5 separate regions of the Homo sapiens genome follow, and all the other regions are linked to region 4. The links are contacts of gene promoters, found by promoter capture Hi-C in blood cells and fetal thymus (Javierre and others, 2016). All regions are on one chromosome and are shown on one strand. Each heading gives the region's core, a stretch centred on a gene start or on the middle of the fragment in contact. The rest is flanking DNA. Distances are from core to core; before and after follow the strand shown.

What was found. Contacts are between HindIII fragments. The CHiCAGO score rates a contact against its expected background, and 5 or more counts as called.
Region 1: a contact is called between a fragment that was not itself captured here and the fragment with the promoter of ANKRD63 in region 4, in 17 of 17 cell types (M2 macrophages, megakaryocytes, M0 macrophages and 14 more). The highest score is 40.9, in M2 macrophages.
Region 2: the fragment with the promoter of BUB1B here is called in contact with the fragment with the promoter of ANKRD63 in region 4 in 2 of 17 cell types (naive B cells and total B cells); the score reaches 5.0 in naive B cells.
Region 3: a contact is called between a fragment that was not itself captured here and the fragment with the promoter of ANKRD63 in region 4, in 7 of 17 cell types (M0 macrophages, erythroblasts, M1 macrophages and 4 more). The highest score is 10.3, in M0 macrophages.
Region 5: a fragment that was not itself captured here is called in contact with the fragment with the promoter of ANKRD63 in region 4 in 1 of 17 cell types (M0 macrophages); the score reaches 6.4 in M0 macrophages.

Annotation. Positions count from the first base shown.
Region 1 is chr15:40,212,099-40,217,801 of GRCh38, forward strand. BUB1B (BUB1 mitotic checkpoint serine/threonine kinase B) reads left to right here. Exons shown (of 23, transcript NM_001211.6): 19 at 401-550; 20 at 1,234-1,376; 21 at 5,398-5,569. The region is part of intron 1 of LOC107984763 (a long non-coding RNA gene); the gene reads right to left. BUB1B-PAK6 (BUB1B-PAK6 readthrough) reads left to right here and starts at 5,330. Exons shown (of 10, transcript NM_001128629.3): 1 at 5,330-5,569. The HindIII fragment of the contact is 3,082 bases long and covers 2,059-5,140 here.
Region 2 is chr15:40,158,663-40,164,101 of GRCh38, forward strand. It overlaps BUB1B (BUB1 mitotic checkpoint serine/threonine kinase B), which reads left to right and starts at 2,407. Exons shown (of 23, transcript NM_001211.6): 1 at 2,407-2,593. The coding sequence starts at 2,559. RefSeq lists enhancers at 2,541-2,640, 2,661-2,790, 2,798-3,562. The HindIII fragment of the contact is 2,113 bases long and covers 1,203-3,315 here.
Region 3 is chr15:40,194,932-40,200,417 of GRCh38, forward strand. It overlaps BUB1B (BUB1 mitotic checkpoint serine/threonine kinase B), which reads left to right. Exons shown (of 23, transcript NM_001211.6): 9 at 1,614-1,843; 10 at 4,684-4,796; 11 at 5,313-5,428. The region is part of intron 1 of LOC107984763 (a long non-coding RNA gene); the gene reads right to left. Among named protein-coding and RNA genes, the nearest start is that of BUB1B-PAK6, 20 kb to the right of the region's middle. The HindIII fragment of the contact is 2,010 bases long and covers 3,045-5,054 here.
Region 4 is chr15:40,281,007-40,286,245 of GRCh38, forward strand. It overlaps ANKRD63 (ankyrin repeat domain 63), which reads right to left and starts at 2,058. Exons shown (of 1, transcript NM_001190479.3): 1 at 1-2,058. The coding sequence starts at 1,580. The coding sequence ends at 438. It also overlaps a transcript of PLCB2 not described here. RefSeq lists silencers at 1,540-1,809, 1,820-1,879, 1,950-2,019. The HindIII fragment of the contact is 15,046 bases long and covers 1-5,239 here.
Region 5 is chr15:40,180,214-40,185,593 of GRCh38, forward strand. It overlaps BUB1B (BUB1 mitotic checkpoint serine/threonine kinase B), which reads left to right. Exons shown (of 23, transcript NM_001211.6): 6 at 3,501-3,670; 7 at 4,952-5,166; 8 at 5,338-5,380. The region is part of intron 1 of LOC107984763 (a long non-coding RNA gene); the gene reads right to left. Among named protein-coding and RNA genes, the nearest start is that of BUB1B, 22 kb to the left of the region's middle. The HindIII fragment of the contact is 4,331 bases long and covers 1-3,964 here.

The sequences.
Region 1 (5,703 bases), core at 2,350-4,849, 67 kb before region 4:
TGCTGGGATTACAGGCATGAGCCACTGCACTAGGCCTACCTTCCTCTTAAATGGGATTCAATCACTCCTGTCTTAGCTCCACCCTCAGCCTCACTTCCATGGGTAATTGGTGCTGCCAGTTATATAGTATAGGAAAATAGCCTTGTAGTGTAAATGTAGCTCAGCTTTCTCCTCTGCCAAAATCAGTTTTTATTCTAATTGGATTGTTACCTCCTGTTCTCTTTCCAGCTTATCCTCTTTCCAGAATTTGTTGTTATTGTGTCTTTTATAGTAGATTTATGCCTTTAAAAATATCTCTTTATTATTTCTCTATCAGAAGGGCTGGAAGGAATGTGTTTCAACCTGCCAGCCATAACCATAGACTTAACTGAACTTATTTTTAAAATACAATGTCTTACAGGTATCTTCTCAACCTGTCCCATGGGACTTTTATATCAACCTCAAGTTAAAGGAACGTTTAAATGAAGATTTTGATCATTTTTGCAGCTGTTATCAATATCAAGATGGCTGTATTGTTTGGCACCAATATATAAACTGCTTCACCCTTCAGGTCTGTAATACTAAAAACATAATTTAAAGTCCTGAAGTAGAGAGATTTGTGCTCCATTTAGCAAAGGAATTTAGTACAAAATTCCTGTCAATCTTCTAGAAATAGACCAATTCAAGTATAAGTTAGAAGCATTGATAATTTTCTCGTTATTTTGACCAAAGATCTCTTTGGTATTTTTTTAACTTTTTTTGGTCCGTTGTCAAGCATAAATAAAAGTAGAATTGTACAATGAACTCCCATGAACTAGTCATCTATGATAATCTTAGCTCATGGTCACTCTTGTTTTAGCTATACTACCCCCACTGGATAGTTTTTAAAACCCAGACACAATATGTCATTTTACTCTTCGGTTTGTTCTTAAGAAGGTTTGCTATGGATTTTGATGATAATATGAATTCTCAAAAATGGTTGGAATGAGGGTATTTTAAATCCATTTATTAAGTACCTATTTTGGGCCAGGCTCATGCTTGATGCCCTTCATCATTATGTCATTAAATCCTTACAAACAATCTTATGGGAGATGGCAGTGTTATTAAAACTGGGACATAGACTCAGTCTACAGAGGTGCCTACGTTCCAGTAGAGAACAAGGAAGACTACAAACCATCAGTTTTCAAGGTATTGAGTATAACTACGATCTGCCAAACTTGAGAAATAGTGAGTTTTCTGTCCTTCAATTTCCAGGATCTTCTCCAACACAGTGAATATATTACCCATGAAATAACAGTGTTGATTATTTATAACCTTTTGACAATAGTGGAGATGCTACACAAAGCAGAAATAGTCCATGGTGACTTGAGTCCAAGGTGTCTGATTCTCAGAAACAGGTTGGTCCTTTTCATTCTTATAATTCTGCCAGCTGTCTCTTAAAACATGGATAGTTGCCACTTTTTTTTTTCTTTTTTGAGGCGAGGGTCTCACTCTGTCACCTAGGTTGGAGTACAGTGGCATGATCTTGGCTCACTGCAGCCTCCATCTCCCAGGTTCAAACGATTCTCCCATCTTAACCTTGCTAGTAGCTGGGACCACAGGCGCGCACCACCACACCTGGCTAATTTTTTGTATTTTTTGGTAGAGATGAGGTTTCACCATGTTGCCCAGGCTGGTCTCAAACTCCTGGCCTCAAGTGATCTGCCCACCTCAGCCTCCCAAAGTGCTGGGATTATAGGCGTGAGCCACTGCACCCGGCCAAGTTGCCAATTTTTAAAGCCTTTTGATAAATGCCATATCGAGGAACATATTATGTTAAGAGAGTATTTACCTAAAAGTCAAAAATCATTAAGAATAGTTTAAAATAATTCAAAGAAATAAACACATTGAGGAAATAGATTAAATCAGATAAAAGAATTAATCACTGAGTATTGTGATGATATATGTCAAGATGAGATATAAAATATGAATATTTTGAGGAATATAAAGTGGATTGTTTAGTCATTCTTTGAGTGGGACCAGTGCCACTCTAGCGAGGATGCCAGCAAAATCAAGGCACTACTCAGTTTCATAGACCAAAGCTTAAGTCAGGCCTAACTGACCTGTTAGCCAAGAGAAGTGGGTAAAACCAGAGTTCAAATACAAACTATGCCAAGGAATGGGGTTTAGTGTTCAAATTAAACCCAGTGTGTCCATCAGGTTCAAGGGGTGAGCACAGAGCAGGAAATAATAAATGAATACTAAGGACTGAGAAAATATAGATCACGTTCAGGCATTAACTAGGCAAAAACAGTCCAACATTTTTGCTTTGTGAAAAGTACTAGAGGACTACTATATTCTTTTAGTGATCATTGGTGTTATAGTATTTGAGTAAAAGCAGCCTGGTTTAAAGATGCTGTGTCTGCCCAACCCTGTGTCTTGGGTGAGGTGTTAACTTTGTTTCTGAGGCCACTGGTATACACTAATAGCTGGACTTACTCTTTACATTTCTTCTGAATACTTAATCTATCAGAAGAGATTGAATTAGACTCTAAATTATAGTTAACGTGGAAATTAAAAGAACCCTCAATGTGTTCCTGTGATTGTAACCAAAAGAACCAGAGAATCCCACCTTCTCCCCTGAGATAGCAGAGTCAAAGGCTTTCCCAGACATAATGTAGCAGCATTTCTCATCCAGGGCACCATAGGTATTTTGGGTGAGACAATTCTTTGTGCAGGTGTGTTCCAAGCAATGCAGGATGTTTTATATTCCTATTCCCCCCCACCCACCCAATTAAGTGCAAGTAACAATCCCCTAAGCCGTTGTGACCACCAAAAATCCCCCCAAATTTCCAAGTATGAGAACCCCTGGTATATTTTCACTCTACTTAACATTAAAATGACAGTGCTGAAATTCCCAGGGCTATGGAAATTGGAAGCAGAGGTTTTTTCTAAGCCTTTTAGAATTGGCCATTTGTGGTCTAATGAAGTACGATAACCCTTCTCTCAGCCACTAGAGGCTCTAGGAAAGTCCATAGTATTAAAGAGGCATTGCTTTTTACTTTGTCACTGCTTATCAAATTTAATCAGAAATTTCACATAGATTCATAAGGAATTAAAAGCCAGAAAGGGGCCGAGCACAGTGGCTCATGCCTATAATCAATCCCAGCACTTTTGGAGGCTGAGGCGGGCAGATCACCTGAGGTTGGGAGTTCAAGACCAGCCTGACCAACATGGAGAAACCCCATCCTACTAAAAATACAAAATTAGCCAGGTATGGTGGTGCATGCCTGTAATCCCAGCTACTTGGGAGGCTGAGGAAGGAGAATTGCTTGAACTCAGGAGGCAGAGGTTGTGGTGAACTGAGATCGCACCATTGTACTCCAGTCTGGGCAACAAGAGCAAAATTCTGTCTCAAAAAAAAAGCCAGAGGCCGGGCGCAGTAGCTCACGCCTGTAATCCCAGCATTTTGGGAGGCCGAGGCGGGCGGATCACGAGGTCAGGAGATCAAGACCATCCTGGCTAACACAGTGAAACCCTGTCTCTACTAAAAATACAACAAGATAGCCAGCCGTGGTGGCAGGTGCCTGTAGTCCCAGCTACTCAGGAGGCTGAGGCAGGAGAATGGCGTGAACCCGGGAGGCAGAGCTTGCAGTGAGCCAAGATCATGCCACTGCACTCCAGCCTGGGTGACAGAGCGAGACTCCATCTCAAAACAAAACAACAACAAAAGCCAGAAAGGGCTGGATGCAGTGGTTCACATCTGCAATCCCAGCACTTTGGGAGGCAGAGGCAGGAGGATCTCTTGAGGCCAGGAGTTCAAGACCAGCCTGGTCAACATAGCAAGACCCTGTCTCTACAAAAATAAAATAAAAGCCAGAAAGAACCTTTTGAAATTGCTTAGTTTAGTTGCTTACTTTAGTTTCTGCATATTTTTTGTGAGGAAAATGAGATCCAAAAAAATGGAATGTCCTACCCAAAGTAACAGTGAGTGAGTAGCTGATTAGAGGGCTAGGACACCTTCATGCATGCTTCTTTTTATTAATCTATGAGACATTTTTTCCCTATGCCTCCAAAGTTATATAAATATTTTACAATTACACTGGGCATGGTGACTCACATCTGTAATCCCAGCACTTTGGGAGACCAAGGCAGAGGATCACTTGAGCCTAGGAGTTCAAGACCAGTCTGGGCAATATAATGAGACCTCATCTCTACAAAAAATTAAGAAATTAGCCAGGCATGGTGGCACACACCAGTAGTCCCAGCTACTCGGGAGGCTGAGATGGGAGGATCGCTTGAACCTAGGAGGCAGAGACTGCACTGAGCTGAGATCGCACCACTGTACTCCAGCCTCAGTGACAAGAGTGTAGACCTTGTCTAAGAAACCAAACAAAACACACACATGCACACACTTTACATATATATATAAAATACATATGTATATTTTATATATATCAGAATCCACGATCCCTATAACTATATATATACTATATATATATATATATATATATATTTTTTTTTTTTTTTAATTATAGTATAGTTTTATGGTGGCCAAAAAAGGTTGGCTCTTGTGCCAAGGAAAAATGAGAGCAATTATCAATTTTAAAGTAAAATACATAGATCATTCTGTGCCGTGGAGGTATGTAATTGGAGTAGTTAAAGACTGTATTTAGGAATATTGCACCAATATCAGGAGTTTGAGGGAATTAATTGAGAAAAACAGACAAAAGGAACACATGAAAACCCACTCTTTTCATTTATAAACAGTTCCTATGTCCCCTTGGAGAATAGCATTATTGCATAGGATAGATAAACCCAAGGAAAACAAAATTAATTGATAATTAATTAGTATTATAAAGATTTTTTTAGTAAATAACTGGAATTACAAGTAAGAGTAAGATAAAATATGGTGTTTTACAAGAAATTTTACAATACAGATAGGACTTTATAAAACAGACTTGCATTGTTTTCCATTAAACTCTGGAAGGAAGAATCTAAACAATACTTGGAAAGCCTATCTGGAATAGTAAACAAGAAAGGCTATGACACCTATAAAATTTTAATTTCCTCCATCATAATTCCTGTCAGTGTATAAATCATTGCAATTGTATGTGTTAATGTGTACAGTACAGGGAAGAAGCCTGTGCTCTGCTTCCATACTTACTTTATATAATATGGAAGCTTGATAAATGTTTAATGGTGGCCATGCACCGTGATTGAAATATACTTTGTGTCACCAAAGTGGTGACATTCCTTCCGCATTGGGTGGACACTGCCACTGCTCTGTCTTACAGGTGCATTTTCAAAATTAACCACTGGAGGGAGTTGTTGGCATAGCTAAGATGTACCCAAGGTACCTTTTTTTTTTAAAGACCAGCTATGCAGCTTCTTTCATGGCCTATTTTTATTATCTCCTTCTCTTAAATCTGGGCTCAGAATCCACGATCCCTATGATTGTAACAAGAACAATCAAGCTTTGAAGATAGTGGACTTTTCCTACAGTGTTGACCTTAGGGTGCAGCTGGATGTTTTTACCCTCAGCGGCTTTCGGACTGTACAGATCCTGGAAGGACAAAAGATCCTGGCTAACTGTTCTTCTCCCTACCAGGTAAGTGTAAAACAAGCCTGAGCAAATATGGAGAGGGTTTCTTAATCTCTTTATTATCTAGATAAGCTATAAAAGCTACTGTTTACTGATACCGACTCCTAGAATAGATGACCTAGTTTTCAAATATCACCAAG
Region 2 (5,439 bases), core at 1,157-3,656, 120 kb before region 4:
ACGAAGGCAGTGCTGTTGGAGGCTGGCATCACACTGAACCAGCTTTTTTTTTTTCCTTTTTAGAGACAGTCTCACTCTGTTGCCCAGGCTGGAGTGCAGTGGCATGATCACAGCTCACTGCAACCCCCGCATCCCGGGTTCAAGCGATTCTCCTGCCTCAGCCTCCGGAGTAGCTGGGATTACAGGCATGCACCACCACACCCAGCTAATTTTTGTATTTTTAGTAGGACGGGGTTTCACCATGTTGGCCAGGCTAGTCTTGAACTCCTGACCTTAAGTGATCCGCCCGCCTCAGCCTTCCAAAGTACATAGAACCAGCTCTTAAGGCCACTGCCTCAGGCCCTCACTCCACAAAACCGTAAGTCCTTGGGACCAGGCCAACAAAGGGTCACAATCCAAGGTGGATATCCTGTGCCCCACTCACTCCAGTTCCCCCAAGTCCACAGACAAACCCTGCTGCTTTCAGCATTCCTCTTCCTCAAAGGCAAACCTTGCTTGCTGGGAGCTCCACCCATCAGTTCATGGGACATCCCTAAAAACTCATTTTCCAAATTAAACCACAGAGTACCTTCTGTCATACATTTTGGAGTTTTGTTTTACCTACCTCCTTCTTTTCCCGTAGTGAAACAAGCAAGGGGTTTAGCCTGAATGCATTCTACATCGTAGCAGAGTTTATGGGGAATCCGACTAGGTTATAGGAAAGACTGAGATCAAAAGACCAAACACTACGTTTCCAAGATTGTTTGTAGGAAATAGTCAAAATTGAGAAGCTGTAGATATGAACAGGACACCCTGTTGAAAGAAAATGAAGTGCTAGGCCAGTACTGACATAAGGTAAGAGATAAAATGAGCCAGTGAGAGAATCCCACGCACCACACCTCATATGATCCAGGAAAGCTTCCTGGATGTGGAGGACTTTGATGTAAAGAGTAACCAAAATTTCCTATGAGGAATCACCCCTTCCCCTCTCTCAGTCCCAAGGTGAAACACATGACTTGGTTCTGAACAATCAAAGCCCTGAATCCACTATCCCCAGTGACTGTTTGGGAGGAAGGGGTTAAGCAGGGTGACTCCTAAGTCTGAATTTGAACCTGTAAGGATAAAGTCGTGAATCTGTTACCCAATGGAGAATGACAATAAGCCAACAACAAGAGTAGAGGCGAGAAATGGAGAGAGGCCCAGTCCACATGAGTCCTGGGTTAAGCTTTATCTGAAGTCTTTTATATATAAAAGACAGTAAATTCCCTTTTCTGAGTAGGCCGATTTAAGTTGGATTTCTACTTCTTTGGAATCAAGAGTCCTGATGATTCAGAGGAAAGAAGGACTTATATAACATGAACAAAGACAGAAAGCTGGGAACTAAGAACCAGAGGGTAGTGGACAGTATCCTCAGCATCTGCCTCTGGGAAGTGCCACCTCTCTGACCATCCCCACAGTCATAAAGGAGAACTCCCCTGTACCTGGGCTTTCTTAAATGACCCTGTTCCTTCCTCAAGGTGGCTAATGCCTGTAATCGCAGCTACTGCGGAGGCTGAGGTGGGAGGATCACTTGACCCCGGGAGTTGGAGGCTGGAATGCAGTAGCCCCATGATGGGGCTACTGCACTCCAGCCTGGGCAACAGAGCAAGAAGAAGACCCTGTCTCTAAAACAAAACCAACCAACCAAACAAACAAAAAGACTCTACTCCCCTGGTCACATCTGAGCTATCACAATTTCTTCCTCAGAAAATTGAAATTGCAACAAACAGTTTAATGTCAGTCAAGGCTAGTCCCCTGAAGGGGAAAAGAGGTAACACCTTGGGAACCATAGCATGGCTGTGTTTACTGCTTGTGGACTGAGCAGAAGAGAAAGCAAGACAGTATCATCACTTTATAGATGAGGAAAACTGATGGTCAGAAAGATTATGTAGCTTGCCTAAGGTTGCACATTTGGTATGATTTTACAGAACTAGAATCCAGCTTTTTGAATTCAAGGGTGGGGCAGGAAACAGCTAGGTCAGTGGCCTAAGAACTCCGGACGGGTGAGATTTGGGGCAGACAGCAGGGGTAGTCACCCTACAAGAGTCACGCCAAGTGCAAGCACTCAGAGACATCTCCCAACACTCAAAACAGCAAAGAAGTTCTGGTGCTTTAAGTGTTCCTCGCTCGGCTCAGAGACTCGGCTTCGAGCCGCGACTCAAGACAGCACCTGGGGGTATTTGTTTTGCCTAAGCCTGCTGCACTTCCACGGCCATTGAATCCCAAAAACTACAATTCCCATTATGCACCGCGAGTTCGCGGACTAAACAGGCATAAACTACAAGCCCCAGAATGCCTTGGGCGAGACGCGAGAGCACGGAGGAGCGGAGGGGCGTGGCCACGTCGACCGCGCGGGACCGTTAAATTTGAAACTTGGCGGCTAGGGGTGTGGGCTTGAGGTGGCCGGTTTGTTAGGGAGTCGTGTACGTGCCTTGGTCGCTTCTGTAGCTCCGAGGGCAGGTTGCGGAAGAAAGCCCAGGCGGTCTGTGGCCCAGAGGAAAGGCCTGCAGCAGGACGAGGACCTGAGCCAGGAATGCAGGATGGCGGCGGTGAAGAAGGAAGGGGGTGCTCTGAGGTAGGTACGGGAGAAAGCTGCTGGGGGCTGGGCCTGAGAGGACACGGCCTGGTAGGTAATAGAAGGCTCCGCTCGGAGCAGTCGAGGGGGAGATCGGCACCGTCAGAACAGACCCCACCGGAGCCTCCTTCCTTTTGGAGTAGAATGCCGGAGGTGGAGGTGAAAACGCAGTGGACTGAGGGCACGTGCGAATCCTGCCGCATCCAGCTTCAAAGCGAAGAAGGCTGCGGGACCCCAGCGGAACAAAGAGTTTGGAAGTTGCAATGTTGTCTGTTTGTAACTCAGCTCAGCCACCTGCTAGTTGTTTGACCTTGGGCAAATCGTTTGTATGGAAAATGCTGATGTTAATGCTGCCTTACGTGGTTCTGGGGGAATTCAAAGTATTTGTTAAGTAACTGCTTCCAAATAAGCGCTCAACAAATGGCAGGTGCTATGCCAATAGCACAGAGATCTGAAAGCCTTTAGCCAATATCATAGAGATCTAAATTATGCCAATAACATAGAGATCTAAAAGCCTTTTTCTGCATGTTTGCGGCTTTTCCTTGTATTAAAAAAACTATATTGCAGTTCTAGGTTGGAAATCTGTATGTGTTTTCACTGTGGTGCCCGCAATACCTAGATAAGTGCTATGTCATGGGCTCTTTCATTCATGTAACAAGTATTTTTTTGGCTAAGCTCTGAGTGCAGCAAATATACAGACACAAAAATCTCAACCCTCATGAAGCTTAAGTTCTGGCATGGGATGAAGGTGGGGGAGTCAGACAATAAAGACAAACTGTTAGGTGGAGATGTGGTCAGTACTAAAAAAAATAATAAAGCAACTGGGTGTAGTGAATATTGGGGGTGGGGATTGGTGCAATTTAACTTGAACACTGGAGTCTCACTGAGGAGATGTCACTTTGGTCAAGACTTGAAGGAATCTCAAAAGCTAGAGGTTCTATATCTGAGGAGAGTACAAAGGCTGAGGGTGAGAGCTAGGGGAGGAAGTTGCACCTGGCATGTCCAAGGCCATTGTCACTGGAGCAGAATTAACTAGAAGAGTAAAAGGATATTATGTAAAAATGGTGAAGATGCAGATTGTAAGGACTTAGCTTTTACTCTAGTTGTAATCAAAAGTCATTGGAAGGTTTTGAGCAAAGGAAAGACATAATCTGACTTGGGTTTAAATGGGGTCACTTTGGCTGTAGTGTTGAATACACTAAAGGCAGCAAAGGATGGAAGCAAGGGACACCAGTTAAGAGGTTATTGAAATAATTCAGCTCAAAAGTGAGTTGAGCCAGGTGGAAAACAGTGGAGATGATGATAAGTGGTTGATTTCTGTATATATTTTGAAGGTAGAACCAGTAGGACTTGCTGACTGACTGAGGGGTATGAGAAGGGCATCAAAGTTGGCACTAAGATTTTTGGCTTGGGTAACTGAAGAATGGGATTGCCATTTATTTGAGAAAGAGGAAGACTGTGGGAGGAGCAGGTCTGGGAGGAAGTGGGGGCAGTCTTAGCTCAATTTGGGATATTTAACTGAGATAGTGTAATTCACTATTTTTAAGAGCAAGAGAAGAAAGTTCAGATGAATTCAACAAACAGGGCATAATAGTGTTATATCTCGTATTAGATCATGGGCATACAAAAATAAATGGCATAGCCCTTACCTTTACAGAGTTCACACAATATAGAGCAGGTCCTGGTATAACATCGTTTCGTTATAATGTTGATGAGAAAAAAAATCAATTCATTGCGGGGCTGCTGTGTATGTGGAGTTTTCATGTTTTCCGCATGTCTGCATGGGTTTCCTTAGGTACTCCAGTTTCCTTCTACATCCCAAAGATGTGCCTGTTAATTGGCGTGTCTAAATGATCCCAGTCTGAATGGGTGTGAATGTGATGCTCCCTGTGATGGAGTGGTGTCCTGTCCAGGGTTGGTTCCTCTCTGAGTTGCTGAGATGGGCTCTGGCCACCCTCAACCCCGAACTAGAATAAGTGAGTTGGAAAATGAATGAAGGAATGAATACAAATTACTGTAAAATAAAAATCTGTAAAGGCTGGGAGCGGTGGCTCACACCTGTAATCCCAGCACTTCGGGAGGCTGAGGCAACAGGATTGCTTAAGCTCAGCGGTTCAAGACCAGCCTGGGCAACATAGTAAGGCCTGTCTCTATTTAAAAAGTTTATATAAAGTGTGTATGATAATCATATAAATGCATGACAATAAACAATGCCTTATGAAAGTGCCCAGCATGCCCACTATAGTGTTACTATTTGTTTTTTGAACTTTGTGGTGGTAGGAGGTACTTCTTGAAATTTTCACTCTCAAACATTTATTCCTTGAGTTAACCCACCAACACTATGACTGCAGTCATTCACTGATTCGCCAAAAATTGGGTAAATGATTATTTTTTGTTTTCATTAAATGTTCTTAAGTGTACGGATAGCTCACATTTATTTCAATATTTAGTATTAAAAATGTTTGTTTCGAGTCTTTATTCAGAAGTTTGGTGACGTTTTTGTGACCAGAAATATGCCATAGGAACTTAACTTTTGTTTATGTCGATCAGCCTGTGGTAAAATTGGTTTTGTTACATGTCATTTTGATTAAAGTCATAGTTTCCAAGAAGCTGTCTCCAACGAGTTTTCAGTGCTCATCTAGACTGAAGTCACATATAACTTTCACTCTATTTCAAAGATTAGTGCCAATGTGTCTCTCTTTTTGTTTTAAGTCCAGAGGTAATGTCTCTTAGAAATAGTCTTCTATCTAACCATTGCAGGGCTCTGAATTGCAGAATACGTAATGGGAATTACCTCCAAAACGTTTCGGGGGTTTTCTCAGTAGGCTTGCTAGAATTGGGTGTGA
Region 3 (5,486 bases), core at 2,800-5,299, 84 kb before region 4:
TAATTTCCTTCCTTATCATAGCAGAGGTGGTACTCAGAACATAATTTTATTTTCCTTTTTTTTACATTTCAATAGGTTTTGGGGAACAGGTGGTGTTTGGTTACACAAATAAGTTACTTAGCGGTTATTTCTGAAATTTTGGTGCACCCGTCACCTGAGCAGTGTACACTGTACCCGATGTGTAGTCTTTTAACCCTTACTCCCCCCATCCTTTCCCCCAAATCCCCAAAGTCCATTGTATCATTTTTATGGCTTTGTGTCCTTATAGCTTAGCTCCCACTTATAAGTGAGAACATATGATGTTTGGTTTTCCATTCCTCAGTTACGTCACTTAGAATAATGGTCTCCAATTCCATCCAGGTTGCTTCAAATGCCATTTTTTTGTTCCTTTTTGTGGCTGAGTAGTATTTCATGGTAGATATATACCACATTTTCTTTATCCATGCATTGATTGATGGGCATTTGGGCTGGTTCCATATTTTTGCAGTTGTGAATTATGCTGCTAAAATATGCATGTGCAAGTATCTTTTTCATATAATGACTTCTTTTCCTCTGGGTAGATACCCAGGAGTGGGATTGCTGGATCAAATGGTGGATCTACTTTTAGTTCCTTAAGGAATCTCCGTACTGTTTTCCATAGTGGTTGTACGAGTTTACATTCCCCCCAACAGTGTAAACGTGTTCCCGTTTCACCACATCCATGCCAGTGTCTATTATTTTTTGATTTCTTTATTATGGCCATTCTCACAGGAGTAAGGGGTTATTGCGTTGTGGTTTTGATTTGCATTTCCCTGATAATTAGTGATGCTGAACATTTTTTCATATGCTCGTTGGCCATTTGTTTATCTTTTGAAAATTGTCTATTCATGTCCTTAGCCCACTTTTTGATAGGATTGTTTGTTTTTTTCTTGCTGATTTGTTTGAGTTCCTGGTAGATTCTGGATATTAGTCCTTTGTCGGATGCATAGATCGTGAAGATTTTCTCCCACTCTGTGGGTTGTCTGTTTACTCTGCTGATTATTCCTTTTGCTGTGCAGAAGCTTTTTAGTTTAGTTTAGCCCCATCTAATTATCTTTGTTTTTGTTGCGTTTGCTTTTGGGTTCTTGGTCATGAAGTCTTTACCGAAGCCAATGTCTAGGAGGGTTTTTCCAGTGTTATCGTCTAGAATTTTTATGGTTTCAGATCTTAGATTTAATTAAGTCTTTGATCCACCTTGAGTTGATTTTTTGTATAAGGTGAGAGAGGAGGATCTAGTTTCATTCTCCTACTTGTGACTTGCCAATTATCCCAGCACCATTTGTTGAATAGAGTATCTTTCCCCACTTTACGCTTTTGTTTGCTTTGTCAAAGATCAGTTGACTGTGAGTATTTGGCTTTATTTCTGGGCTCTCTATTCTGTTCCATTGATCTATATGCCTGTTTTTATACCAGTATTATGCTGTTTTGGTGACTATGGCCTTACAGCATAGTTTGAAGTCAGGTAATGTAAGGCCTCCAGATTTGCAGAACATAATTATTGATGGCCCTTGTAAATTATTTTTAGCTTCTTTTATCAATCTTATTGATTTTTTTTATTTTGACCCATATGAATAATAGTAATTTTGCTTCTTTAGGACACCATGTAAAATTGAACCTAGTATAAACCACATCCTAAGCACCAGAAAGCCTGGAAAGGAAGAAGGAGATCCTCTACAAAGGGTTCAGAGCCATCAGCAAGCGTCTGAGGAGAAGAAAGAGAAGATGATGTATTGTAAGGAGAAGATTTATGCAGGAGTAGGGGAATTCTCCTTTGAAGAAATTCGGGCTGAAGTTTTCCGGAAGAAATTAAAAGAGCAAAGGGAAGGTGTGTGTAATTCAAGTTTGTGAAGAGGACTTAACTTAGTTGTGTGAAGGTTGAGCTGACCTATTAAGTCTGAAGAAAACTAACCTTATAGTTTGTACCTTTGTATGATGTTTCTATGGTAGTACTGTTTCTTTCTGTGTATCAGCCAAAATCCCACTGCTGCCTTCTATGGTTGTACTGTTTCTGTGTATCAGCCAAACTCCCATTGCTGCCTTCCATGAAAACTCCTTGGGGTGTGGGGGCACTGAGTATGTTTAGAAGTAAAGGAAGAAGTTCTGAACTGTATGAACAATTTATATTCCCCAATACAATAAGCAAGCAGCTATGATCCCTGACATGCATATATGTACATTCCATGCATCCCTATTAAGTACTTTTCCTAATGTTATTGCTTGAAATATTTCACTTTACCTTTGATACTTTGTCTGAAATTTCTCCAAGGGCTTATTTAGATTAACATAGTAGGTCATACTGCAGTGATTTAGATTATAGATATTCGTATTGTTTTTTAAAGACATTATATTTCTAAATTAAAGGAAAAGGTTTAAAAATTGAGATATGGGGAATTTTTGGGAAACAGGAAGCAGTTCTGATTCTGGAGCCTGGAGTACTTGAAGGCAAGAGGTAGGGCAGAATGGGCTGGAAAGTAGGGAAGTAAGGCATATGGGGCTTAAGGCATGAGAAGGTGAAGGAGAATAAAGAAGGGTACAGAAAATGAGGTAGGGGAGGGTCCACTTCCATTTAGACATTTTTTATTAGGATCTGTAAGGAGAAAGTAATGTTTCTTTTATACATCCGTATCCAGAATAACCTACTAATATAGCTCAGCTCTCTTAACAGGATGTGGTGTTTGTGGGGTTAGCTGGGAAACTTAACCATCACTTATACTTTGAGGAGCAATCTTTTCTGAGTTCCAGGTGACAACCTGGAAGCAAACTTTGGTAAAGCAGACTGTTAGTAAGTTTGAAATTGCCTTCATTTGTTACACTAATTAGTGTCATCCAAGATTGTCAAAAGTGCTCTGGGTTCAAATGGAACTTGTGTGTCTAGGTAGAAGAGAGGGATGGTTGCAAAGCAAGGTGTTGAGTAAGGCTTTTAAAAAAGGAGAACCACTCCAGCAAAGAAATAGGCTAGGAGGGTGGCCAAATATGAACCAGAAAAGGAACTAGGTATCTAGATAAAAACTGTTTCCTAAGGGAAAAGCTTAGTCTGTACCAGATATATAGAAGGAAAATGAAAGTCCATTTTAGGGCCAGGCACAGTGGCTCACACCTGTAATCCCAGCACTTTGGGAAAAAAAGACCAGCCTGGGCAACATGGTGAATTCTCATCTCTGTGGGAAAAAGAAAAGGTACATTTTGTTTTCAACTAGCCAAAGAAGGACCTACTCTAGATTACATGGGATTTAATTAGGAATAAGAAGGCATTGACCTCTGAGAATTTTTTAATACTCATTTCTATTGTGTTTTTTTTTTTTTTAAATAGAGAGATGGGATCTCCCTGTGTTGCCCAGGCTGGTCTCAAACTCCTGGGCTCAAGCTATCCTTCCCACCTTGGCCTTTCAAAGTGCTGGGATTATAGGCATGAGCCACCATGCAGACCTTAATGCTTATTTCTAAGCTGGTCTCTGAATCTATTTCATGAACTTGTATAAATTCCCATCTGTGTATAAGTTTGTACCCTTACATAAATCCTCATTTCAATAAATGTGGTTTCTAGTTACTGTCAAAAACTGACTTCAAAGACTTGCCAACTACTTACTCTCAGGGAAAAATACAAGAAAAGAGGAAGCCACAATCAGGGCCTACACAAAGGTTGTTTTTTCTTTGCGTTGCACTTCCAAATCATTTTTTCCCTCTTCTTTCAAAAACTTTAGCTTCTTTCAGATTTCTGTCCTCTAATTCTTTTCTATCTCCTGAGCCTCCTTAGTGTACTCACCTCAGACTTTTCAGTCACACTCCATCATTCATTAATTGACTAATAAGCACATGGCTTACTATCTATGCCTCTTTACCCTAACCTGCAAAACCCTGCATGGCCAAGCATGGTAGCATGTGCCTGTAGTCCCAGCTACTCAGGAGAGTGAGGCAGAAGGATTGAGCCCACAAGTTTGAGACCAGCCTGGGCAATATAGCAAGACCCCATCTCCAAAAACAAACAAAACTCCATGTGGCTTAGCCTTTACCTACCTCTCCAACCCCATCTTTTTCTATTCACCCTCTTACTATGCTGCAACTACACTGGACTTCCTTTGGATTCTTAGACACAGTGGTCTTTTCCTGCATTGGGGCCTTTGTGCCACCTAGTTTGTTAGCCTAGAATCTTTCCCCAGAACTTTGGCCCCTTATCATTTAAATTACAGCTTAATACTGTCACTTTATCAGAATGATCTTCCCTGATCACTGGTCTTAAGTAGCCCTCCCTTGGCCTCCATCTCCCTACCCAGTCAAACATTCTCACGTCACCTATTTTATTCTTTTTCCTAAACTGATTTTCTTGTGTGTGTGTTGCCCCCAAATTTGAATGTTAGTATCACATAACCAAGGACTTTGTATTATGTACCACTGAAACCTAAGTACTCAGAGCTGTGCTTGGCACATAGTAGGTATTCAATGTTTTTTTCCTTTTAGTAGAAACCTGTGTTGTTCAAAGGTATTCTATTTTTTTATTGAATGGATAAAGAATAGAGGCCTAGACCACAAGTTGAGGACCTTATTCCACTTAAATCATTTTCATCTGTATTAGTAACATATATGTTGAGGAGATGAGCTCCAAAGGCAGTTTTTGACAGAATGAGTTACTATGAGGAATAATACCTCAAGCAACTTTACTGTTTCTAGCCGAGCTATTGACCAGTGCAGAGAAGAGAGCAGAAATGCAGAAACAGATTGAAGAGATGGAGAAGAAGCTAAAAGAAATCCAAACTACTCAGCAAGAAAGAACAGGTGATCAGGTAATTTTTCTTTTTTCATACACAAAACTAGAATTTATTGAAACAAATTTAAACATTATAAAAATATAGAAGGTTAAAGTCCTCCCAACCCCCATTTAGAGTTTCTGGTAGTTTCTTAGCTGTTAGTAGCCGGAAAGTTGAGCGGGAAAGTAATTTAACAGGTGACTTCAAATGGAATTTGTGGCATGTGAAATAAGTGGTGCAGTTTATTGACTTCTTAGTTATACTCCAAATCATTATGTTATTAATTCTGGCTTAAGCTTTTTATTCTAGCTATGTTCCATTAAAATGGGATTGCCTAAAGAAATTTAGTATATGCCTGGCACTGCTCAGTTGAGTACAACAGTACTGGTTTAGAGTAGGAATAAAAATTATTGGAAATGACTTTTGTGGTACACTCATTTTGTACTGTTAGTGGATGTCTAGGGAAAGAGTACAGTAAAGCTAATGTTAGAACTAGAAAATAGCATTTTCTGGATGGGAGGGACATTGATTTTGTTTATTTAATGCAAACAGCAAGAAGAGACGATGCCTACAAAGGAGACAACTAAACTGCAAATTGCTTCCGAGTCTCAGAAAATACCAGGAATGACTCTATCCAGTTCTGTTTGTCAAGTAAACTGTTGTGCCAGGTAAGACTACATAGGTGGAAGGGACAATGCATATAGGAGGGCATTTAGAACCAACCTT
Region 4 (5,239 bases), core at 808-3,307:
GTCAGCATCAGTAGGCAGAAAGTGGGGAGGCTGGGTCCTTATTCTCCAAGGTGGACCCTTCTATTTACCTGGCTGCCCAGTTGTTGGGAAACCCAGCGAGGGGAGGGGGGCCGGACAGGAGCGACAGATGGCTAGGCCGACCCAGGATTGAGCCTGAGGGCTGGGGAGGGGGAATCCACCTTCCTGGCTGTAGCCTACGGAACCAGTCAATCGACACCTCTAGACCTAGGCAGGGAATACCGAGGAGCACAAAAAAGAAGATGGAGGTCCCTTATTTCTGGTGGAGGGCTGGTGGAGGTCTCGCCTTGGCAGGGAGGCAGGTTCCAAAATGGACTGCGGGGGGCGGCTGCCGAAAAGGTGAGGGACCTAGAAGAGAGAAATACCAGTGGAGTAGAAACGGGAGGGTAGGGGAAGCAGGCCTCGGGCCTTGGCGCCGTTTACCGCTGAGCACGCAGCACCACAGCCTCGGTGCCCGCCTGCCAAGGGTTCGGCCCAGGCACCGAGACAGACAGAGCGTTGGCCTCTAACTCCGGGCCACTCTCGGGCCCTGGCGCCTCCCCGACCAGGCTGGGGATATCTGGGGCTGTGGAGCGTCGGCGCAAACCCAGGCGGCCAGAGCCGGGGCCGCCCTCCGGGTGGGGACTGAGGCCAATGGGGGCTTGCGCTAAGGTTGGGGGCGCTCCCTCCAGCACCTCCTGTGAGCGCCACCGCCCAGTCCCCGAAGACTGGGGCGAGTTTGGTAGGGCCATCAGGGCCCCAGCCCGCAGGCGGGCAGCCTCCTCCTCGGTTACCGCACCTAGAGCCAGGCTCATGCTCCGACCCAGCTCGGGCCGTTCGCTGCCCTGCGCCCGGTGCCGGCCCGAATTCTTGCCCGCTGAGCCAGCCTCGCCGCCGTGGCCGCCCGCCGCTCGCGCAAAGCGCGCCAGGAGAGGCCGCGGGAGGCGGCGGGGGCTGGGTCGTCGATGCTCGGGGCTGGCCGCGGGGGCCGGGCGGCCAGGGGGACTATCGGAGTTGGAGCCCCGGGCCGCAGCGGCGGCGGCGGCGCGGCCCCAGGGCCCGGTGAGGGCCTGCACACAGGTCCCGTGGCCGCGGGCGGCGGCCAGTTGCAGCGCGGTGAGCCCCGCACGGTTGGTGCGGTCGAGGCGCAGGCCTAGGCGGCGGAAGGACCGCACCAGGAACTCGAGCACCGCCCCGTGGCCGCAGGCCGCCGCCCACATCACCGGGCTGTTGCCCGCAGAGTCGGCCGCCTCGGGGTCACCGCTGAACTGCACCAGCAGCTGCACGGCGTCCAGGTGGCCTCGCTCGCACGCCAGGCTGAGTGCGGTGCGGCCGCGCTCGTCTCGCAGGTTCACTGCAGCACCCTGCTCGAGCAGCAGCCGCACGAAGCGCGCGCGCAGCGCGGGGTCCGGCAGCCCCACGGCCACCATGAGCGGCGTACGGCCCTGCTCCGCGCGGCAGTCGATGATGCTGCGGTCCAGCGCATCCAACACGAAGCGGGCCAAGTGCACTTTGCCCGCCTGCATGGCCTCCAGGAAGGTGCGCGTCCCCGCTCGGGGGCACAGGTCCTTGGGTTTGAGCATGGCCCCGGCCGCCGCGCCCGGGCAGCCTGGCAGTTCCGCACGGGGGCGCCCCTGTTCTCGCGCCCCGCGGGGCTCCGGCCTCCGCCCGCGCTCTGATACCTCTCCCTCCGCGCGTGGGCGGCTGCAGCCGAGGGTCCCGAGGTTCCTACTCCGCTGTCCCGGAGGCTCCGACTGCCCCGCCGCTCCTGGGCCGCACGCCTGGCGTGTCGCCGCTCCTTCCCCGGGCCTCCCGCCTGGAGGTGTTGATTGCTCGCTACTCCGGGCTCCGCTCCTGGCCCGCCACCAGACGTCGGGAGCAGAGACTCGACCCTCTCCCGAGTCTCTCGCCGCTTTCCCGGTGTCCGGCGCCCCTCAGTCCTCGTGGTTTGGAGCCGCCGTGCCACTCACCCGCACCCAGGGCAGCCCCCGCTCCCCCGCAGCGACGGTGGCGCCCGCCGTGCACGCCTGCCTCCAGCCCTGGCGGGGCGCGCCGCTCCTCAAGCTGCTGGCGCCGTTCCTCCGCCTCCTCCCCTCTCGCGGGGGCCGGGCCACGCCAGGGCGCTTGCTCCTTACTTGGGGGGCTCAGCGGCGCGGGAGCTGCCGCCCGCCTAGATACCTGACTTTATAGCCTTGGGGGTCTCCATGGCAATGGCTGTCCTGGGAGCGGACTGCGCCGTCAGGGCAGAGACGGACGGGGCGGGGGAGACCGCTCCTGACCCCCACCCCTTCGTGGGCCACGAAGTAGGGGAGCGGTTCCTCCTCCGCGCTCCCCTGGGAATGCGGCGGCGGTTGCGGGGCGGGGGCGGGGGCTGCTCGCCGGGGGCCACATGCACCCAACCGGGCCAATCCCAAAGTCGCAGTCTTCTCTCCCCGCCCTCCGCCCCCAACCGAGTCGGTGCCCTCGGCTCCTTAGAAACTGGCGGGACCTCGGCCTCGTCGGGGAAGACTGAAAGCTGCCCCCATCGGTCCAGGGTGAAAGGAATTGGGACCCCATGAGCGCAGAACTGGACCACGCGCGAGCTAGGGGTGGCAGCGAAAGGCGGATGAGGAGTAATTTGGGGGAGGGGGTATACGTGCCGCGGATTGGGGGCGCTCAGCCTGGCTGGGAACTGCCACTCGAAGTGCAGAGAATCACGCACTCACACACAATTGTTCCACCCGCACACGCTCCCTGGGAACGAGGGGTGGGGTCCGAGTGCGCTCTCCAATTTCAGACGTCTCCAACCCCGACAACGCGCCCGCGTGCCAGCTCCTGGTGGCTGCCTAGCGGGCAGAGTGTAGACGCCCAGACCAGGGAGGGGCTCCTTAGGACCCGGGAGTGCCGCGGACATGTTAAAAGTTCCCTGGCGCCGCCACCCTGGAAAGAGCTAGGGACCCACTCGAGGTTCCCTGCCCCTCGCTTCTCCCTTGAGCACAAAACAACCCCCAGGCCACAGGGCTCTGGCTCTGACCACTGGCTGACCCCTAAAGAGAGGAGGCGAGCACAAGTTCCATTTTCCGTAAGATGCTTGGAGAAACCACTGCATCTCCTCTCCCTCCGGCCAGCAGGTCCCCCTCGGTCCTGGAGGAGGGGGGATGATACACAGGCCTGGGCGGAGCAGAGTTAGGGCGCCTCAGAGCCTGGGTGTGGGTGGTGGGGAGGGTGTGAGTAGGGTTGGAATGGATATTTGTAAAGTAAGGAGTAAAGCAGTTATCAGCTGCAGAATTTACTGAGACTTTTCATGAGCCGCACATTTTGTTGCCGGCAGCGGGTAAGAGAGAGACAGAATCTCGGTTCTGGGTGCGAGACGTTCCACCTCTTAAGAAGACAACACTGGGACTTAAAAAATGGACGTTGTCACCTGAGGGCTGAATTCTTCTGCTAAATACGTACCAACACAGTCCTTGGATGAAAAGATGGAGTTGTGGGCAGGAGAGGGCTCTCGGGCCTTTTAAAGATAGGCCTTCAAGGATGTGCGGGATCTGGCTGCAAAAGAAAGAAGGAAGGAATCCCAGGCCGGGTGCAGTGGCTCACGCCTGTAATCCCAGCACTTTGGGAGGCCGAGGCGGGCGGATCACGAGATCAAGGGATCGAGACCATCCTGGCCAACATGGTGAAACCCCGTCTCTACTAAAAATACAAAAATTAGCTGGGCGCGGTGGCACGCGCCTGTAGTCCCTGCTACTTGGGAGGCTGACGCAGGAGAATTGCTTGAACCTGGGAGGCAGAGGTTGCAGTGAGCCGAGATCACGCCACTGCACTCCAGCCTGGAGACAGAGTGAGACTCCGTCAAAAAAAAAAAAAAAAAAAAAAAAAAAAGGAAGTAATTCCAGACGGGTTCTGGAGGCAAAGGCTTGGAAGCAGGATAAACCTTCAGGGGACACTATTGAGGGCTGCTTTAAGGGGTCCCTTCCTATCAGAGACAGGAAATAAGGGAAGAATGATGGTGTTCTCAGTCTGAGCAGATGCTTTGGAGTAGGAGATGCCTGGGGAAAGGTACTGGGCATAGATAGGCGTGGCAAAGTGGGCTCATGGCCCTGCACCCTGAACCCCTTGCCTCTCTCCAGCTCCCAGGCTCCGGGGATGTCCACCTTGAATTTGGCACCCAGGCCATGGAGCAGAGGCTCCCACTCCCCTCTGTCACGTGAGGAGCGTGTGATGTGTACCTGCATCCACTACGAAGCCCCCCTTTTCTCTTTTTGCATTTGTTAAGCCTTTGGTCAGGGATCTGCCAATTTTCTTTCCTGGTGTCATGAAAAGGCCACAGATCTGACATCAGCGTTAAGTCCCAGCTTGAAGGCATTTACTAGCAGTGTGGCTCCAAGCCTGCATATTCTCAGCTGCAAAATGAGACTGATAAATACCAGCCCTGCCTGCTTTACACAAGAACAAGTTAGAAAGTGTCAGGGAAAGAGCTGCATAGTTATTTCATTTTTTTTATTTTGTTTTGTTTTGTTTTCTAGAGCTGCATAGTTATTTAGAGTGCAGCCCTCAAAGCTGCTCCCGCCCCAGAGCTAGGGCCCCCTTCTGGGGTGGCCCCCAGGAATGGATAGAGACTCTCCACCCCCAGTAACTGGGCAGGAATGCTCTCCTTTACTCAGCAGAAGAAAGGCTTTTCTTCCCTTTATGACTCAACTTCTCTTTTCAGCACTGTGAGGGAAATTGCTTTCTTCCCTTCTATTTCCAAGGTCAGAGGAGGGTGTACCCCTGGAACCTGTGTGTGGCCCACCAGCCTGACAAGCCATGACTCACACCCCCCCAGGTGGAGGAGAGAAGCAGCAGAAACCCAGAATGGGCACTTTCTTGGTCCTGAAGAGCCCCTCCTCCCTGAGACAACTGAGCTTCATTTCTGTTCCTGTTCCTCCGTGGTGGATTGAGACAGTTCCAGGGAAGAAGAGTTGGGGCAGAAAGTGCTGTGCTGGGTACCCTTTGGAAGGAGCAGTTGGTTCCCATGGCAGGAAGGGGGTGGTGGTGCCAGGTCTCGAGCCCTGGAGCCTTTGCTCTGACTTCTCTATGGGCTCAGTATGTTCTGAACAGAAAAGAAACAGCAAAGCTGAAAAAAAGCTGAGACTTTGCTGCAGAGCACAGAGGCACCAACAGCCGGAATTAGAAGCTGTCGCTTAGGGAGCTGAAGGCTGACAGGAGATGGAGCCCAGGCAGGCAGGGGGCAGGCAGGCACGTCATACTCACCTCCCCTCCT
Region 5 (5,380 bases), core at 549-3,048, 100 kb before region 4:
TTTACTGGATATAGAATTCTGGGTCAACGTTTCGTTTCTTTTTTTTTTTTTTTTTTTTGAGATGGAGTCTTGCTCTGTCACCCAGGCTGGAGTGCAATGGATGGCACGATTTCAGCTCACTGCAACCCCCACCTCCCAGGCTCAAGTGATTCTCTTGCCTCAGCCTCCCGAGTAGCTGAGTAGCTGGGACTATAGGCATGCGCCACCACACCCGGCTAATTTTTGTAGTTTTAGAAGAGATGGGGTTTCATCACATTGGCCAGGCTGGTCTCAAACTCCTGACCTCAAATGGTCTGCCCACCTTGGCCTCCCAAAGTGCTGGGATTACAGGCATGAGCCACTGTACCCAGCCAACATTTCTTTTCTTTCACCACTTTAATGATGTTATCCCACTGTCTTCTGGCCTCCTTGGTTTCTTTTTTCTTTTTCTTTTTTTTTTTTTTTTTTTTTTTTTGAGACGGAGTCTCGCTCTGTCGTCCGGGCTACAGTGCAGTGGCGCAATCTCGGCTCACTGCAAGCTCCGCCTCCTGGGATTACGCCATTCTCCTGCCTCAGCCTCCCGAGTAGCTGGGACTACAGGTGCCTGCCACCACGGCTGGCTAATTTTTGTATTTTTAGTAGAGATGGGGTTTCACCATGTTAGCCAGGATGGTCTCAATCTCCTGATCTCGTGATGAGCCTGCTTCGGCCTCCCAAAGTGCTGGGATTGCAGGCATGAGCCACTGCGCCCGGCCCTCTCTGGTTTCTAATAAGAAATCTGTAGTCATTTAGTAGTTCCTGACCTATACATAATGTGTTGATTTTCCTCTGGCCTTGTCCAAGATTTTTTCTTGTTTAGTTTTGGTTTTCAGAAGTTTGATTGTGATGTGTCTAGATGTGATTTTTTTTTTTTTTTTTAGACAGAGTCTAGCTCTGTTGCCTAGGCTGGAGTGCAGTGGCACGATCTCAGCTCACAGCAACCTCCACCTCCCGGGTTCAAGTGATCCTCCTGCCTCAGCCTCCTGAGTAGCTGGGATTACAGGCATGCGCCACCATACCCAGCTAATTTTCTATTTTTAGTAGAGATGGGGTTTCTCCATGTTGGTCAGGCTGGTCTCCAACTCCCAATCTCAGGTGATCCACCCGCCTCGGCCTCCCAAAGTGCTGGGATTACAGGCGTGAACCACCACGCCTGGCCTAGATGTGGTTTTCTTTACATTTAATCTGGGCTTCACTGGGCCTTTTGAATTTGTAAATGTATGCCTTTCACAAAATTTGACAAGTTTTCAGCCGTTATTTTTAAAATGATTTTTTATACCTATTATCTCTTTCTTCTTTCTCTCTCTGAGACTTCAGTTGCACAAATTTTAGACCATTTCCCCCGACTCTGCTACCAATAATCTGTCCAAATTAAACCTTTTGATATCATTCCATAGGTCCCTGAAGCTCTGTTTAACCATTTTTCTTTTTGTTTTTCAGATTGGCCCATTTTTATTGCTCTGTCTTCAGGTTCACTTATTCTTTTCTCTTCCATCTCCATCCTGCTATTGAAACCATTCAACATAAATTTTTTATTTCAGATACTGTATTTTTCAATTCTAAAATTTCTGTTTCATTCTTTTTTATAATTTCTGTTTCTCTGTTGAGAATTTCTGTCTCTCCATTCATTTCAAATGTTTTTACCTTCATCTCATGGAACATAGTTATATTAGGTACTTTAAAATCTCCAGGCTGGGCACAGTGGCTCACGCCTGTAATCCCAACACGCTGGGAGGCCAAGGCGGGGGAATCACTTGAGGTCAGCAGTTTGAGACCAGCCTGGCCAATATGGTGAAACTCTGTCTCTACTAAAAATGCAAAAATTAGCTGTGCATGGTTGTGGGTGCCTGCAATCTCAGCTACTCGGGAGGCTGAAGCAGGAGAATCGCTTGAACCCAGGAGGCAGAGGTTGTAGTGAGCCGAGATTGTGCCACTGTACTCCAGCTTGGGTGACAGAATGAGACTCCATCTCAAAAAACAAAATAAAATCTCCATCTGAAAACTATACCATCTGGGTCATTTTATGTTTGCATTTGCTTATTGTTTTTTCCTTTGAAAGTTGGTCACATTTTTCTAGTTCTTTGTGTGTCAAGTAATTCTTGTACCCTGGACATTTATCCTGACCATATGTTATAAGACTCTGATCCTGTTGGCCAATATTCCCTGGAGAATATCTATGTTTTTGTCTTAGTAGACAACCACACTTCAGATATTACAAGTTCTTTGTCATCTTGTGTGGCTGTTGGTTCCACTGTCAGTTCAGTTTTCAAGACCTTTGCTGTGTTGCTTTGGGTCTGTCCCATGCATGTCCTGCTTAAGGGTTAATCTGGGGCTTGGGCAGTGGTTTATATCATTGTTCAGTTCTCAAAGCCTTTTCTGTGCTGCTTTGAATCTACCCTGTGCATGCATAGCTCAAGAGGGAACCTAAGATGTATGCCAATTCACATACAGAATTAGGAGATCCTCTTGTTCAGCTCATTCCTTTGCAGTTCTCCTCCCATATTCTTTGGCCTTCAGAGTCCTCTTTTCCCAGTCCTCAGGCCAGAAAGATGGGGTTTCTCTGAGTTTTACATTCACATACCACCACTGCAACAGTTCAAAACCACAAGAGAAAATAGAAGAATAAAAAAACAGGAAACAATCCTGCGTGGGTTGTTTCTTCAAGTTTTGACCCCTCTCCACAGTCTGCTTGCTTTTGTTGACTTTTCAGAGCCCTCAGTTAGTTGCTTTTTTTGTATATGGTCTATAGTTTTTAATTCCTATCAGTGAGAGAAAGAGAAAAGGTACAGTGGGCATACTCCATCTTGGCCAACACCTGCAATTTATTCTGGGTTTTTTGGGGTTTTTTTTACCCTTATGATAATACTTTTTAAGGCTAGTTAAATGAAGCAGTGGTAGGAATGGAGAATCTCTTCTGATAATACTTAAAACTGTGGCAGCAGCATAGGAAGTTTACTTTTCAAACTTCTGCCAGCTTTGCTAAAGTACAATGTCATGTCATATGCAACTTCATTTCATATAGGTCAGGAGAAACCGTATATGTGTGTGCGTGCACGTGCGCGCATGCATGTGTATAGAAAAAGAGACACAGTGATAAAATAGATGTGGCACAGTGTTAACAATTGGTGGGTCAAGTTTTCTAATAAAAAGTTAGTGGGAAAACTCTAATCTTAATAAACTCTGTGATCTTAGTCTTAATAACCCTAACCTGATCCTCAGATCAACTTAATGGTGATTTTCAGAATAATTTAAATTGGTCAAACTTGGGCATTTAAAGGGAGAGTTAAATAATTCTAGCCAAAACTTTTCATGATCTTAAGGTGACTCTCTTTACTTCTGAGAGAATAAACATGTTCTTTGGGATATTTCTGCATTCTTCCCCCAGCCTGCTCTTCTAATTTGTTTACTTTAACAAATTGGAAATTTTGAGTCTGGTAAAATAGTGGTCACCTCACTAAAAGTTGTGCATTCTGCTACTTTAGACAATTCCAAGCTCGAGTGTCTCGGCAAACTCTGTTGGCACTTGAGAAAGAAGAAGAGGAGGAAGTTTTTGAGTCTTCTGTACCACAACGAAGCACACTAGCTGAACTAAAGAGCAAAGGGAAAAAGACAGCAAGAGCTCCAATCATCCGTGTAGGAGGTGCTCTCAAGGGTAAGTTTGTTAAACGTTATTTCGGAAAACTGTTAGTTTCTAGTGGTAAAATCATGTAAGAAGATAATACATAAATATACCTGTGGACACTTCTAGTTTGCTGAATACTGAGTAGCAAAAAGAAGGAAGTCAAAGGAGAGCTAATATTACAGTGTGCAGTAAAATCAAAATGCATCAGTAATTTTGTGTCTTAATTAAGAAAGACCTAACATTTAGGAAGCATCAAGATTTTCTGAGTTTGAATTGTTAGTTGAAAGAAGATATGTAGTAACATAGCAGGTGTTGTTAAAGTGAAGCTTACATATACCAAAGCCTCAGAGAATGATACTAATATGGTTAAGAACCCTGCCTTCAGAGCCCTTTGGGACCAGAAATTAGACTCTCTATATACCCAAAGATCAGCAATAATTTTTTTTAATTAACATGGACTTTTTTTTTTTTTGAGAGATAGGTTCTCGCTCTGTTGCCTGAAACGTGGTAGTGCAATCATAGCTCACCGCAGCTTCAAACTCCTAGGCTCAAGCAGTTCTTTTGCCTCAGCCTCCCAAGTAGCTAGGATTATAGGTGTGAGCCACTGCATCTGGACAACACTGACTATTTTTTAGAGTAGTTTTAGGTTCATAGCAAAATTGAGCAGAAGGTACAGAGAATAATAAGCTTTTATTTACTAAATTTATAGCAGTTAGACATGTAAACCAGGCTGTTTTTTTAATCTCTTATTTCTTTCCTGGTATCAATTTATCAATAATCAGAATGTTACTTGGTGGTTCTAGAATTAGGATATAGGGAGTGTATGGTCCCAAAGGCTATTTCATCCAGATCATGATGAAGCTTGGTTAATAACCAGCCCCACAACAGAGAAAACCCCTAATAAATGGGTTAATTTTGTATTCTCTAGTTCCAGTATATCTCTGCTGATTTCCATTGAGAGAAAATTTAAAACTGAAGAATAAAACTTAGGTTAGTTTCTGATAAAACTAGATAATGTTATAATGATGACTGAAGGAAGATGCAGAATGTCTTTTTTGGAAATTTGTGAATAAAAGATGTGGGGTGACTGGAGGAGGGAAAAGAAGGCAGAATATAAGTAACAAAGAATGGATAAAACGATTCTATTTTTGATTTATTAATTTTTTTAAAGATTATTTTTAAAATTTCTTTTTTTTTTTCTGTTGTAGTGGAAATACTGTCCTTGAGTTGAGGAAGAATAGGTATACTTTATCTGGCATCTAAGTTAATAATGAAACATTTTACATGAGGTTTTAATATTTTTGCTCCTAGCTCCAAGCCAGAACAGAGGACTCCAAAATCCATTTCCTCAACAGATGCAAAATAATAGTAGAATTACTGTTTTTGATGAAAATGCTGATGAGGCTTCTACAGCAGAGTTGTCTAAGCCTACAGTCCAGCCATGGATAGCACCCCCCATGCCCAGGGCCAAAGAGAATGAGCTGCAAGCAGGCCCTTGGAACACAGGCAGGTCCTTGGAACACAGGGTAAGGACTCTTAGATCCAGTGCTTTGCTGACACAACAAAGACTTCACATTTAGGGTAGAGAAGTATTTTTACCATCTCTTTTAATTCCTCTTGAATATTTAGCCATGGTCTATATATGCTGTCTGAGAACATAAAACTATGGTAATTTTAGTTTTCTTCTTCATCTCCAGCCTCGTGGCAATACAGCTTCACTGATAGCTGTACCCGCTGTGC